Linked DNA regions of Homo sapiens: region 2 is linked to region 1. Evidence: promoter capture Hi-C in human tissues and cell types (Jung and others, 2019). All regions are on one chromosome and are shown on one strand. The core of a region is centred on a gene start or on the middle of the fragment in contact, and the rest is flanking DNA. Distances in the headings are between cores, read along the strand shown. Region 1 holds the start of SLC45A1 (solute carrier family 45 member 1). Region 2 overlaps RERE (arginine-glutamic acid dipeptide repeats).

Region 1 (6,772 bases), core at 1,163-3,662:
ACTACAGGTGCACACCACCACACCAGGCTAATTCTTGTATTTTTTTGTAGAGATGGGGTTTCGCCATGTTGCCCAGGCTGGCCTCAAACTCCTGGGCTCAAGTGATCCACCTGCCTTGGCTTCCCAAAGTGTTGGAATTACAGGCATGAGCCACCATTCCCAGCCCCTGAAGTGTCTTTTTGAAAAGAGGAGCCTCTTTGACCTTATTTAAAGTGGACTATGTAGACGGCCCACTTCTCTACCTGCAAGAGGACAACTCTACTGCCACCTCCGCCACACCCCACTGCAGCCTGTCCTAGCAGAAGGGAGATCCTCACACACTCAATGAACTTCTCTCTAGCATCTGAACCAGAATTAAACCTAGCTTAATCCTGGCTCAGAAGAAGTCTTTACTAAGGATTCATCTTCAAATCTGGGGATCAGCATTACCATTTTTATTAAAACTACATTTAGTAAAAACTGTTCACAAATGTTTATCATAAGAAGAATTTTAGAAACTCATTTTTGAGACCGGGCACAGTGGCTGACGCCTGTAATGCCAGCACTTTGGGAGGCCGAGGTGGGTGGATCACCTGAGCTCAGGAGTTCGAGACCAGCCTGGCCAACATGGAGAAACCCCGTCTCTACTAAAAATACAAAAAATTAGCTGGGCATGGTGGCGAGTGCCTGTAATCCCAGCTACTCCGGAGGCTGAGGCAGGAGAATCGCTTGAACCCAGGAGGTGGAGGTTGTAGCGAGCTGAGATCGCACCACTGCACTCCAGCCTGGGCAACAGAGTGAGACTCTTGTCTCAAAAAACAACAACAACAACAACAAAAATCCATTTTTAAGGTTCCCATAAAAATGGGTGAAAGTGGAATTTAAGATCATAAAATCTAATTTTCATGCACAAATACAAACATTCGCCAGACCATCTTTACTGTACCATATGACCATTTACTCGGTCAAAAGGAAATCCACTCATCTCCCTGGATCCCCCGAAGGCTATGCAAGGGGTCCACTGTGCTTCCAGAGTACAGAGGATGCTTAAAGTAACAGATTCCTCAAACTGTGTTGTGGGAAGTTTAAGCGGCAAATGATTAATAAAAGTAATCAATGTCAATGTAGTTTGAATGCTTACAATGATCCTACTACGAGCGGAAACCATTTCCTCATTTCTTTCTTCTCGTTATGAAAATGAGCTCCCCCCACGGGGTTGCCTTGGGCCACCTCCCTTCCTAGGGCGTATTTGCTTATTTGTTTATTTGAGACGGAGTCTCACTCTATCGCCCAGACTAGAGTGCAGTGGCATGATCTGGGTTCACTGCAACCTCCGCCTCCTGGGTTCAAGCGATTCTCCTGCCTCAGCTTCCCAAGTAGCTGGGATTACAGGCATGTGCCACCACGCCCGGCTAATTTTGTATTTTTAGTAGAGATGGGGTTTCACCATGTTGGCCAGGCTGGTCTTGAACTCCTGACCTCAGGTGATCCACCCGACTCAGCCTCCCAAAGTGCTGGGATTACAGGCATGAGCCACCGCGCCCGACCCCTCATGCTTCTTTCTACCCATTCTCAAAATTCTTCAGTGAGGTCCTCCAGGACCAGGAAGGTGCTCTACGGACTTGGGAGGGTGCACTTAATAGGCTAGTTACTGAATCGTGGCCGTTTCCCACTTTGCATCTCCGGCAGCTTGACCCCTACTCCAGGGCCAACTTTTCCCAAAAGCCCAGGCCAGGTGCAGCCTGAACGTGGCTTTCCTCCGCCCCTGACTCTGCTTCCCTGTAAGAGCTGAAAAACATGCACGGCTGTCACTCTAGAAATAATTAGAGAAGTTGCTGATTGTCGAGGGCAGAAGGAGCTGAACGGCTTCCACCTCAGCGCGTTCCCCTTGGTGCTGACTCGCTCGGGAAAGGGGAGTCCTCGGTGCCCTCGCTAAGTAACCCTGGGATGCTGAGGGGCGTTGCCAGGCCCCTGGTCAACAAGAGGGCTCAGCCCCACGCAAGAGGTGAGCCGGGAGCGGATGACACCTGCCCAGGTGACTAGGGACCAGGCCTCCGGCTCAAGGAGCGCATCAGGAGCTGGGGCCAAGGCCGGGGTCTCCTCCCCTTGCCAGCAAGGATGAGAGCACCTGCCATCTGGCCGGCACCCTCCCCTGGGCCCGAGGCTCCTGCCCTCGGAGGGGCGAGACGGGGGAGCTCCGTGGACTCTGCAATTCATGAGACTTCCACGAGGAACAAAGGTCTCCGTGCCGGCCTCGGGTCCCGGTCTCGGCGCCCTGACTACCCCGGGGCCCAGGGCGCGGCGCCCCGGCAGGCACGGAGCCAGAGAGCGGGCGGAGGGCGCGGAGGAGACGGTGGTACCTGTGGGTGGAGACGGCAGGCATCCCTGTCCCCGCTGGGCTGCTGCCTGCCCGGCCGCGGTCCCGGCTGCTGCAGCATCACCCGGGGCGGGGCGCTGACGTCACGGCCGCAGCCTCCGCATCCGCGCGGGGCCCGGAGCCTTAAAGCGGCGCCGCGTCTGGGGCCCCGCGGGCGGGAGGGGAGCCCGGTGTCCTCCTGGGCCCTTCCCGCGGGAGGCCCGTCCCGGTGCTTCGCGCACGACGGCGCGGTCTGCAGGATCTGCCAGGATCCCGGAGGAAAACGTCCCCCCGGCCTCACAGTTCTCACCGTTTTCTTCTGATTTTAAAAGAAATAAATACATTTTCGTGTCTTCATGTATAAATAGATACCCATGTGTTCGCGGATACGTGAATGCCGCAGTGCGTGTGCCAAGCCTGTGCCCATGTGCGCAGTGGGGCAGCCGGGCCTGCTGGAGGCGTCGCGACTCTGGGCCCGGAGCTGTCCAAGGCACTGGGGATGCCGCAAGAACAAGGCAAAGTTCCCGCCCCTGGGGGAACTTTGTAATGTAAGTAAATACATAAATACTTTATGTATTTATTATTTACTTCATTTTTTAAAATACAGAGAGGCAGGGCCTTGCTATGTTGCCCAGGCTGGTCTCGACTCCTGGGCTCAAGTGATCCTTCTGCCTCGGCCTCCCAAAGTACAGGTGTGAGCCACCGCACCCGGCTGCATGACATTTAAGAGAGAGACACACACACATTAAACAAGACATAAAATAAATGGTATGTCAGAAGATGGCAATGCCCTAGAGAAGGGGTTAGGGAGTGTGGGGCTGCAGAGGCGCTGGCCTTGCAGGTTTCTATCAGGTTGTTGGCGAGTCCTCACCTGGAAGGTGACACTAGAAGGAGGATTTGCGGAGCAGGCCGGGCACGGTGGCTCACACCTGTAATCCCTGCGCTCTGGGAGGCCGAGAGGGGCAGATCACCTGAGGTCTGGAGTTCGAGACCAGCCTGGCCAACATGGCAAAACCCCCATCTCTACTAAAAATATAAAAATTAGCCACACGTGGTGCTGGGTGCCTGTAATCTCAGCTACTCAGCTGAGGCAGGAGAATCGCTTGAACCTGGGAGGCAGGGGTTGCAGTGAGCTGAGATCGTGCCACTGCACTCCAGCCTGGGCCACAGAGTGAGACTCCATCTCAAAAAGAAAAGAAGGACCTGAGGAGCTAGGGGGGCCAGCCAGACTGACGTGTGGGGAAGGTCACGCCAGGCACTGGGAAGAGCAAGTGCAAAGGCCAGGGGCAGAAGTGAGCTGGGCTGAGTCCAATAATTACGGATGAAATAATTATGCAGCTGGTAGTGGAATAATAACCCCAGGGAAGCGCTGCAGAGTGGGGGCACGGGGCCCTGTGGAAGTTTACCGCGGCGGATTCCACCCCATTGGGAGGGTCGAGGGCTCCTCAAGGAGCCCTACCAGGCCAAGTAGAGAGAACAGCATGTCCCACACAGAGGGCTCAGAGAGCTCTGCACTGGCAGAGCTCCGGAGGGGAGAGGGCCTGGAGGCACACTGCAAAGGAAGTGGAGGGGGACAGGGATGCAGAGGCCTGGGAAGGAGGTGAGGGCTGGGGAGGTGGGACAGGCCCAGGTGTGGCCTCTTAGGCAGTTGCCAGTTTCTAAGAGCAAAGAGAAGCCTAGAAAGGTTTTATGTAGGGGAGTGGATGGCATGAATCCTATTCACAGTTAGCAAAGATCATAAAGCTCAGAGTGAAAACAGATTGGAGGGAACCAGGGGACCACATGGGCGTACCGGGTGGCACAGGTGGGAGAGTTGGGGGTGTTGGTAGAGGGAGAGAGGTGATGGACTGGCCGGGGACTTAGGACTCCATGATTGACTGAAGGTGGGGGGGTACAGGAACAGCGAGGGTGGTGCTAAGAAGTTTCTAGCTTGAGCGATGAGGGAAGAGAGTGGATTCATGGAGGCCAAAGCAGGTGTGTGCTGGAGTGAATGCCATAGGTTTGCTTTGGGATATGCTGAGCTTGAGGGCCTTCGCAGCCTCTAGGCCACCAGACACTTGGGTCTGGAGCTCAAAGATGCTCCTTTATGAGTCCCCTGCACATGGGAGCTAATTGCAGGTGAACTGTGGACCTCGCACTGCCAGGGAGAGGCGCAGGGCAGAGGGCCCCAGAGGACACCATGGGAATTTCAACAGATCCTGCCCAGGCTGAAGAGAAGGAGCCACTGGAGGGGGCTGGTTCTGGCTTCTTTTATCTCTATAACAGGGTAACAGCTTGAAAAAAATACCGATGTCCTTTTCTATTTTGCATGCAAGTGGCCTGCCATCAACTGATGAGCTTCAGCACCTCAGGGACTTAATGCAATAGAAGCTTACTTCCACATGAGGTTGGCAGAAGTGTGCCTGATGGGTGGGGACCTCTGTGAAGCCATTCAGGGATCCCGGTTGCCTCCATCTTGCTCTGCCCTGGTGCACTGAGGGAGGAGCCCAGGTGGTGCCTGCCCACGGGGCCAGGTGTGCAGGAGGCCCACGTTCCACTCGAATCCCATTGGCTAGGACCCTGCCACACAGCCACACCGGCCACACCCAACCCACAACAGGGCTGAGAGATGGGGCCCCTGTCCCCAGGAGAGGAGGAGATGGGGGTGGGGAGTTGCTGGCTTCAACTGCTTCTGTAACTTTTAGCTGCTTGCAGAGGGGAGAGAAGATGGGGAATGCTGAGAAAACTTAAAGATCATCTCGAGGTTCTGATGTTCACAACGGGATTTTGCAACAAGAGAAGAGGTTTGAAATCTAAGCATTGTTGAGAAAGAAAGGGATTTTGAAAATTCCTTTGACCTTTTTTAAACTTCCAAAGTGAGAACCTTCTAAGGCTAGAGCTTTTGCTTTTTAGCCCCTCCAAGTTCAGGGCAGAGAGCAGTGTTTCTCCCTGGGGGCAGACAAGATTTCTCCTGTCTCGACAATAGGTCTAGACTGGGGGCCAGAGTGGAAGGGGCTGACAGAACATGCAGGAAAGACAAGAGACGCTCGCCCTTCCGGTCCTGGGTGTGGGGGAAGGATGGCAGAGGGAGGAGGGAGAGTGAGGGGGAGGAAGGTGCTTGGGGTGCATCCCAGCTCCTTTCTCCCTGCGCCTCAGCCCTGTCGTGGCAGAGTTTGCTCTGGGCAGAGCCCCCGTACACCAACACAGCGGCCGCAGCCCGGCTGGGGGATCAGAACAGTGGGGGCTCTAATTTGCCCTGTGAGGCTCTTGTGGCTCCCATTCAGTGCCTGGATGCAGAGCTGAAGCTGCAATGGCCCCGTGGGGCTGGGACATGACGTGGGGTGGGGGGACCCTCAGCCTCACTGTGGGAAGGACAGTTGGGCCAGGTGGCTGGGTGGGGGGACTTTGGCAGAGAGACCTGGAGGGGTCTACGGGGCCAGCCAGGGCCCCAGGGAAGCAGGAGCCACACCAACTCCACGCCAGGATCTAAGGAAAACAGGGGACTGCTGCAGCCCTGCCACGTACACGGGGACCGGCAGGCAGCCAGGAGGACACAGGAGCCCCATCCACTGCCCCAGCCCAGAAAGGAACAGAGGATGGAGACAGGACATGCACAGTGTGAGCCTAGAGAGACCCAGTCGGACCCAGAATAATAGGCTCCAACAGTGCAGAGGAGAGCTGGTGTGAGGCGGTGGAAGCCTGCTCACCTGCCATCCCTGGGTGTCCACAAGGTGGTGGAAGAGTCCCACCTTTCCCGGGAGGCAGCAGGAAAACCTCGGAGCAGGAGGTGGGGAAAGGGAGAAGCTTTTCCTGACCTTGTAAAGATTCTTGGTTCTAAGGCTGGATTTTTCTTTCTACTTTGTGAACACACTTTTTCTGCAAAGCATGAAGCCAAGTGAATTTTTATGAATAACGTTATTTGTGATAACAGATCTCGTGCTAGTCACTGTGTTAAGGTGTTTCCGTATTTTAACCTCATGTAGTCATCATAGCTTCAGGAATGGGCATTATCTCCACCATTTCTTTTCTATCCAGAAGCCTGAGACTTGGATGGAGTGGGGTCATGACACAGGCAAGGTTGGAGCGGGAGAGCCTCCCAGGCCTTGTGGTCATTCCTCCATTCGTGCAGCGATTATTTATACAGCATCTACCGTCCTCTGGTGCGGGCGGGAGGTGGGATTCAGAGATGGCATCCGAATCCCCTTGGTCATGTTCTCAGTCCTCAGCCTCCTCAAGGGACTGTGCCGTCCCATTGTCTCTACCACCCCTGCCCATCCCATTCCCTGACTTACAACGTGGACAGCTTGTGGCTCCCAATTCAGATCTGAGCAGTGACAGACATGGGTGTGCGTGTGTACCTGTGTGTACAAAGTGTGTGCTGTGCAAACATAGAGAAAGGTGCATTCTCGGCCGGGCATGGTGGCTCACACCTGGAATCCCAGCACTTGGGGAGACTGA
Region 2 (6,772 bases), core at 2,190-4,689, 47 kb before region 1:
TGGCCACATCCCAAGCTTTTATCATTCAGTAGCCCCTAAAATGACTTGGACTGAGGAAGTAGAAGGAACCACTGTGAGTTTTTTCTCATTCTTCTTTCAAGCTCTGGAATTTGAGCTGTGACTTATCACAGCACCAGTTGCCCTTTTGAGCTCATGAAGCATGACCTTGGACAGAGCATTTGGAGTGTGACTGCTCCCTGCCTTGATTTCTCTTCCATATTTTCTCAGAGGAAAACCAGACACAAGTCAGCGTTTATGTCAGCAGTGATCTTGTAACCCCCTAGTGGGATTTACGAATCTTTTCCGTCTAGCCAACACCCAAGGATCAGTATAGATAAATGCATTTCCAAGTCTGGAAAGCAGGAAGTGAAAAGAGCTAGGAGGTTCACAGATCATGACCTTAGGGGCCAGGATGCTCATGCCCGCTGGGACAGTTGTAGCTCGCATTCCTAGACTAGCATGGGGGAGAGGAGCCAGTCAGAAATTCCAATGGCAGTATCTGCATTTCTCCTTATCATTCAGTTACCATCTCATGGAACCGAGGGGTGGGCACATGCACATACGTGTAGGGACATGAGTGTGCTTGTCCCGAGATGGCTCCCTGGCCCTGCTGGCCTGGGGTTATGCTTCATCTGCTAGGTATTGGTGATCAGGAGTAATTTGTTAAGTGTTAAGTGCTTGGGGAGGTTGAGACACGTCCAGTGCTCCAGGAGATACATGTGATGGGCTTTATAGGCCAGTCAGCCCTCCTTCAAGGCATTCCAGCCCTCCTTTAGGGACCGCAGCCGTGGTCCCACTTCTTACAAAAATGCCCAGGCATAAGATGCAGCTGTGGGCAGTCAAGTACTCAAGGCACGGCATCCCCTGCCTTGCGGAAGCCACCCCACCACCTAAAATCTGCCCACCTCTCTTGTCACTGTGTTCTGAGGCCATTTCCTCTGGGGGTGTTTTGGATGAAATCTGGTCTGATGGGTGAGTTTGTCATGTGGCAGCTACATGTCTTTGTTTGGTTTGTCTATTTTAGTCCTTCCAACACTAGTCTTTCCATCCCCCTCTCTCACTTTCCCCTCTCTCTTTTTGCCTCCTCCATTCACAAGACAGTGTTTGATGAGACAAAGTGAGGGTGCAGGTACCTCCAAGACAACTCCCAGCATCTAGTCGCCAAGCTAATAGACTTTCTACAGTGTTGATTTAATTAGAGGGAAACCAAGTGATCTGTGCTCTCTCACTTGGCTGTGTTTGTTTTTTGGGTTTTTTTTTTTTGTTTTTTTTTTTTGTTTTTTTTTTTCAGTTCTAGGTAAAGAGACTTTATCTTGGGATGTTTAAGAAATCGTCTTTTGTGTGTAGGGTGAGATGGCAGCCTGCAGCGCCCTGAGGGCTGGGGGTGCCCAAAGTGCCCTTTCTTTAAAAAGCTTACATTTGCTATATTTCCAAAAAGGTATCTTGCTTTTGTTTCTGCTGGGCCATGAAAAGAAGCCTGACCTTGTGGTGTGTGATATTTCACCTTTGCATCAGCACCACTGTGTGTCTGTCCTCTTGTAGTCTTTCTTTGCCAAGCCCAGTCCTTGCCTCTGGACGTCGTGCCGGCATGTCAGATGTGGGCCTTCAGATGGAGCCAGGTGGAGGCTGTGGAGCAGTTTCCTGAGCATGCGGTCTCTGTTCTTCCCCACCTTCTGTTTGGCCCTGGTTCCTCACCACCTGGGCAGTTTGCTTTGGTTGGTTGGTTGTTTCTGGGGGAGTCTAACTGGCCGGGCATTTCCTTCTCACACCTGTGTGATTTCACTGGCATTACTGTAAAGAAAGCATCGTTGTGTTCACACACATGCACAGACTCACGTGCACACACAGCTAGAATGTAAGCTCCTCGTGGGCAGGAATCTTCTCTCCTTTTCGTCCATTGTGGATGATGTGTACCTCCCATGTGTACAACAGCGGTGGGGTCTGACATAGCAGACACCCAACAAGTACTTGTTCTTGGTGTCTGGAAGTCAAGCTGTGCTGGGCTGAGGAGGCGGGCCCCATTCATGCAGTCCACGGGCAGCTCAGTGGCTGTTTCTTGGGCAAGCCCAGTTCCTCTCCCAACTCCAGGAGCGACTGGTCTTTATTCTCATCTCTGGCACAGCTGTTAAACACCCAGCTTTCCACTGTGGCAGAGAGGGTGCGTGGGGCACGGAAAAGCCCCAGGCCCTCCCCCACAGTCAGCCCTTCTCTTCTGCAGGGGGAGCTGATCACCTTCTATTACTATTGGAAGAAGACCCCCGAAGCAGCCAGCTCCCGAGCCCATCGTAGGCACCGCAGGCAGGCCGTGTTCAGGAGGATTAAGACTCGCACCGCGTCCACACCCGTCAACACACCCTCCAGACCCCCGTCCAGTGAATTCTGTGAGTAGGGGTCTTGGCATCACAGTGGGCGGAGGGGAGACTGTTCACGGGCAGCCTGTCCCACTCTGGGCCCGTAGGAGCTGATGGCTCCGGGAAGCATGAGGGGGTGTGCACCCGTGCTCCAGTGCATGTGTGAAGCCTGACCTAAACATAGACCGATGGTGGGGGCGGGGAGCAGGACAAGGATTCAGGAGGGAGACTTTAAAACATTATTTGTACATTTAAATATTTCTCATAAACTCAACATCATCTTAGGTTTTTACAAAAAATACACGTCTTGGCCTGGGATGTTTTTGGCCTTGTCCTGGGAAGGTTTTCCATTTGACAGATGATGTACTTGATGTCCTGCTTGAATTCTCATTGCACTTTTGGTTGTAAGAAGATCAGATTAACACTTTCTTCTTTTTCCTCCTGCTTCACCAAGATCCTCTTTTTGGTCCCAGTATGATGTACAATCTAATGATGCTGGAGCCCACACCTTCTCACCCCTAAAAAACTGGGGTGTAGCAAAAGTGCCTTATAGCTCTGTCCTGGCCCGGGACGCTGAACCTGAGGGGCGCCGGTGTTGCGCATGCAGGCGACTAGAAATCACCTAGCAGGACGGGTTGGGGGCGCTCGGTGAAGTTGGAATTTCTCAGGATTGCCTGGGCGTATTAGGGAGGGAGGCAGCATGGACGCGCTTGTCCCAGTTCAGACTCACCCGTTACGGGCATCAGTGGCAGGGCAGGCCCTTGGGTATGGCGCCTCACACACAGGCCCTCTGTCCTGGTGACTGACACTGAGGAGCTCGAAGTGGTCCTTTGCAGACACTGTCCTACCTCAGCCTGTGCACCCAGCCGCTCTGACTGGTGGCCAGAACCTGCAGTAGGCCAGAGGTCACAGGTGTTCCCCCCTCCCCCCCACCCCACCGGCCCAGCCTTGGCTGAGCATGATGGTGTCTCCCCCACCCCCACTATGTGCCTGCCACGCCCAGTGGACCTAAGTTCAGCCAGTGAAGATGACTTCGACAGTGAGGACAGTGAGCAGGAGCTGAAGGGGTACGCCTGCCGCCACTGCTTCACCACCAGTAAGTGGCCTCGTCACGCTCCTGGGGCGGGGCGGGGGCACAAGCACTTCCATGTTCTGAACATTTCATGCATCCAGCTGGAAACCTGCCAGGGACAGTACTTGATTTGACATTTGCATTGTGCTTCGGGATTCGAGAAAGTTAGAAATGTTTAGTTTACTTTACTCCTCTGCTTGGCAGTCGGTATGGAATACTGACTGGTAGGCAGGACAGATTGAGTGGGATTGGGGGGTTGACACTGTAGTTCCCAGGAGCTTGCTGCCAGCTTTTCCTGGGCACCCCAAGTTGAAGTGGGCAGCAGATGCCCCTGAAACCCTCTCCTGGCCTTGGGGGAGCAGGGCAGCACTAGCCCTGGGGTGTTGGGGCCCAGGGCTGCATGGTGCTGGTGGCATCAGGTTTGGGTAGAGCCCACAGAAGGGCCCCTCTGCCCAGACATCCCCAGGGAGAGGGATGGTTTCCAAGGTTGGCCCCCACCACTTCCCTCACACAGCCTCCAAAGATTGGCACCACGGAGGCCGGGAGAACATCCTGCTTTGCACCGACTGTCGCATCCACTTCAAGAAATACGGTGAGCTCCCGCCCATTGAGAAGCCCGTGGACCCGCCACCGTTTATGTTCAAACCCGTCAAGGAAGAGGATGATGGGCTCAGTGGGAAGCATAGCATGAGGACACGGCGGAGTCGGGGCTCGGTGAGTCCCCTGGGGCCATGGGGCTCCTGGCAACTTCTTCAGTTTCCTGGGATGTGTGGGGGCTTGAGCCTCCCAGGGGGAGGAAGCGAAAGTCTTGTTTACCAGACAAAGTCCTGGAGGGGAGCTGCTTTGCCCGAGGCGGTAGCTTGCCTGTGGGCTGGGAAGAGTTCTCTGTTCTCTCCTTCGAGGGGCCCCAGGGTGGCATCCTGCTCTGGGTTTTGTAGCAAGCTCTTAGCTTCTGGCTCAGTGCAGGCTCTCCAAGGCCCCTCTTGCTCTCCAAGGCTGCTGCTTGTGGTGTCACTTCCATTGTATCAAATCTCTGCTATTTTAAACTTGCAGGCTCTTTTGTGTTAGTGTGTTTGTGATTTTTTTTAAATGTTTGATCCCGTTTTGGAAACTTCCGATACATTTTTCTGCTCACTGCATAGCTCCTCCCATAAAGAGACTTTGTTTCCTAGGTTGGAAATGTGCCAGGGACTTTGGGAGAGGCTTTTTCCAGGTTTGGGGCTGAGGGTACTGACAGGGTCTTTCCCTTCAGCCTCCCTTATGGCCCCTTCTGGCAGGTGGGTGGGACCATCCACTTTCCTCTGCCCCTTGTATGCCGTTGAGGCTGCTGGCAGCCCGGCCCCCGCTCACTCAGAAGGGAGCAGGTCAACCAGCCAGAACCATTGTCTCCTGATCTCTTCTGAGCCCTCATGGCTTTGCAGAAACATGCTGAAGCGCTTGGCGGCTTGGGGAGCTGAGCTGCTTTACTTGACAGCTTCATCTCTTTGGGTCACTTCCTGTCCTGTCAGATTAAATCCACAAGTGTTTGATTTCATTTGGTTTGGTTGGGAGAATGGACGGTTATGAGGAATAAACAGAAAGGGTGTAGGGTGCTTTAAAGATGGCCCCAGGCGACTTTCTGCCGCTCAGAAAGTGTGGTTCATTTCCAGCACACGTTGTTCAGGACAGTCCCTTGGGATGAGTGCTTTAGGTTTGAGAACCGCCCTCTGGCGTGAGCCCACTGATTTCCCCACCTCTTCCCTGAGCTCCACACCGACCTTCATGCAGCCAGGGACAGGCAGGGCGGCCTGTTGTTTGCCAAGGTCTGGGATTTGCTGAGAGGCTGATAGGGTGTGCCTTCAGGCTTCTGCCTGTGGGTTGGGCTCAGGTGGGTCCACATGGGGACTGGGAATCTGGTGTCACCAGTCTTCGGTTTGGGTGGGCAGATGTCGACACTACGCAGTGGTCGGAAGAAGCAGCCAGCCAGCCCTGATGGTCGCACCTCACCCATCAATGAAGACATCCGCTCCAGCGGCCGGAACTCCCCCAGCGCTGCCAGTACCTCCAGCAATGACAGTAAAGCAGAGACAGTGAAGAAGTCGGCCAAGGTCAGGTGCTGGGGGGATAGTAGGGCCTACTCTGTCCCTCCCTCACATTAAAACTGGTTTGCTGGTATTCGTGATCAGCTCCCTCAGACACGAGGATGCAGCTCATTCATGGAGCCTGTCTGGACACCAGCATTGTCCTGGCCTAGGGGCTGCAGACCGAAGGCTGGGGGCCTAGAGAAGGGGGCTCGAGCACCAACTCTTGGGGGCCACCTCTGCCTCAAGCTTCCCAAGTTCTCAGAAAGTGTGGGGAGTGGTTAGAACGGCTCCCTCCAGAGCCAAGTACAGTCCTCCCTTGGTATCCATTAGAGATTGGCTCCAGAGCCTCCACCGCCCAGGATACCAAAATCCACAGGTGCTCAAATCTCATATACATCGACACATGGTTTGCATGTGACCAGTCACATCCTCCTGTAGACTCTAAATCATCCCTAGGTTACTTCTACTGCCCAGTGCAATGTAAATGCAGTTTAAACAGTGGTTCCACTGTCTAGTTCAGGAGATAATGACAAGAAAACATTGTGTGCACGTTCAGTATAGATGTAACCATCACAGTCCTGCCTACATTTTCAGTCCATGGTTGCTTGAATCTGAGGATGCAAACCCACAGGTGCAGAGGGCTGGCTCTCATTCCCACCCCCAGATACGTGTTCCTTCTTGGCCCCAGTTGACCCTTCTAGAGCTTTTTGCTCCTGGAGATGGAACTCAGAATGAGGGAGCAAAGTGTCTGCAAACCGTCATTTCCTTGCTGAGGCTGATGGGATGGTCTCCCTTGGCCTGATTGCTCCTTGTGGGCTTTTCCCCTGCAGAAGGTGAAGGAGGAAGCCTCTTCCCCTCTTAAGAGTAACAAACGCCAGCGGGAGAAGGTGGCCTCTGATACGGAGGAGGCTGACAGGACCAGCTCCAAGAAGACAAAAACGCAGGTGAGGTTTGCTGCTGAGCCTTGCTGAGTAAAGCTAATGCTTCTTCAGAAGCCCCCAGCCGGGGTTCTCCCTAGTTGGTGGCCGTGCCCTGTCTCCTAGGGTGGGGCTGGAGTGGCCTTTGACACTGGCTGGGTCAGGGCACGACCTGTGGTCCCGGAGCCAAGCTTGCTGCTTCATCTGCACAAACATTACTGTGTGTCCGGCACTGGTGGTGCAGAGCAGACAGGGCTCTGCCCTCCTGGGACTTCCATCCTTCCCTTCTCTGACTCCAGGAGATCAGCAGGCCCAACTCGCCATCTGAAGGTGAGGGAGAGAGTTCAGACAGTCGCAGCGTCAACGATG

Evidence for each region. The method cuts DNA at HindIII sites, captures the fragments that hold promoters and counts their contacts. A contact is called where the count stands out against the background at its distance.
Region 2: a contact is called between a fragment that was not itself captured here and the fragment with the promoter of SLC45A1 in region 1, in 2 of the 25 tissues and cell types used here (IMR-90 fibroblasts and aorta).

The regions. Positions count from the first base shown.
Region 1 is chr1:8,313,754-8,320,525 of GRCh38, reverse strand. It overlaps SLC45A1 (solute carrier family 45 member 1), which reads right to left and starts at 2,412. Exons shown (of 9, transcript NM_001080397.3): 1 at 2,340-2,412. RefSeq lists silencers at 2,303-2,582, 6,012-6,061, 6,102-6,151. The HindIII fragment of the contact is 6,823 bases long and covers 1-5,412 here.
Region 2 is chr1:8,361,421-8,368,192 of GRCh38, reverse strand. It overlaps RERE (arginine-glutamic acid dipeptide repeats), which reads left to right. Exons shown (of 23, transcript NM_001042681.2): 13 at 2,219-2,381; 14 at 3,355-3,447; 15 at 3,938-4,137; 16 at 5,349-5,510; 17 at 6,317-6,430; 18 at 6,703-6,772. Among named protein-coding and RNA genes, the nearest start is that of SLC45A1, 47 kb to the right of the region's middle. RefSeq lists enhancers at 236-736, 2,562-3,532 and a silencer at 684-853. The HindIII fragment of the contact is 5,449 bases long and covers 715-6,163 here.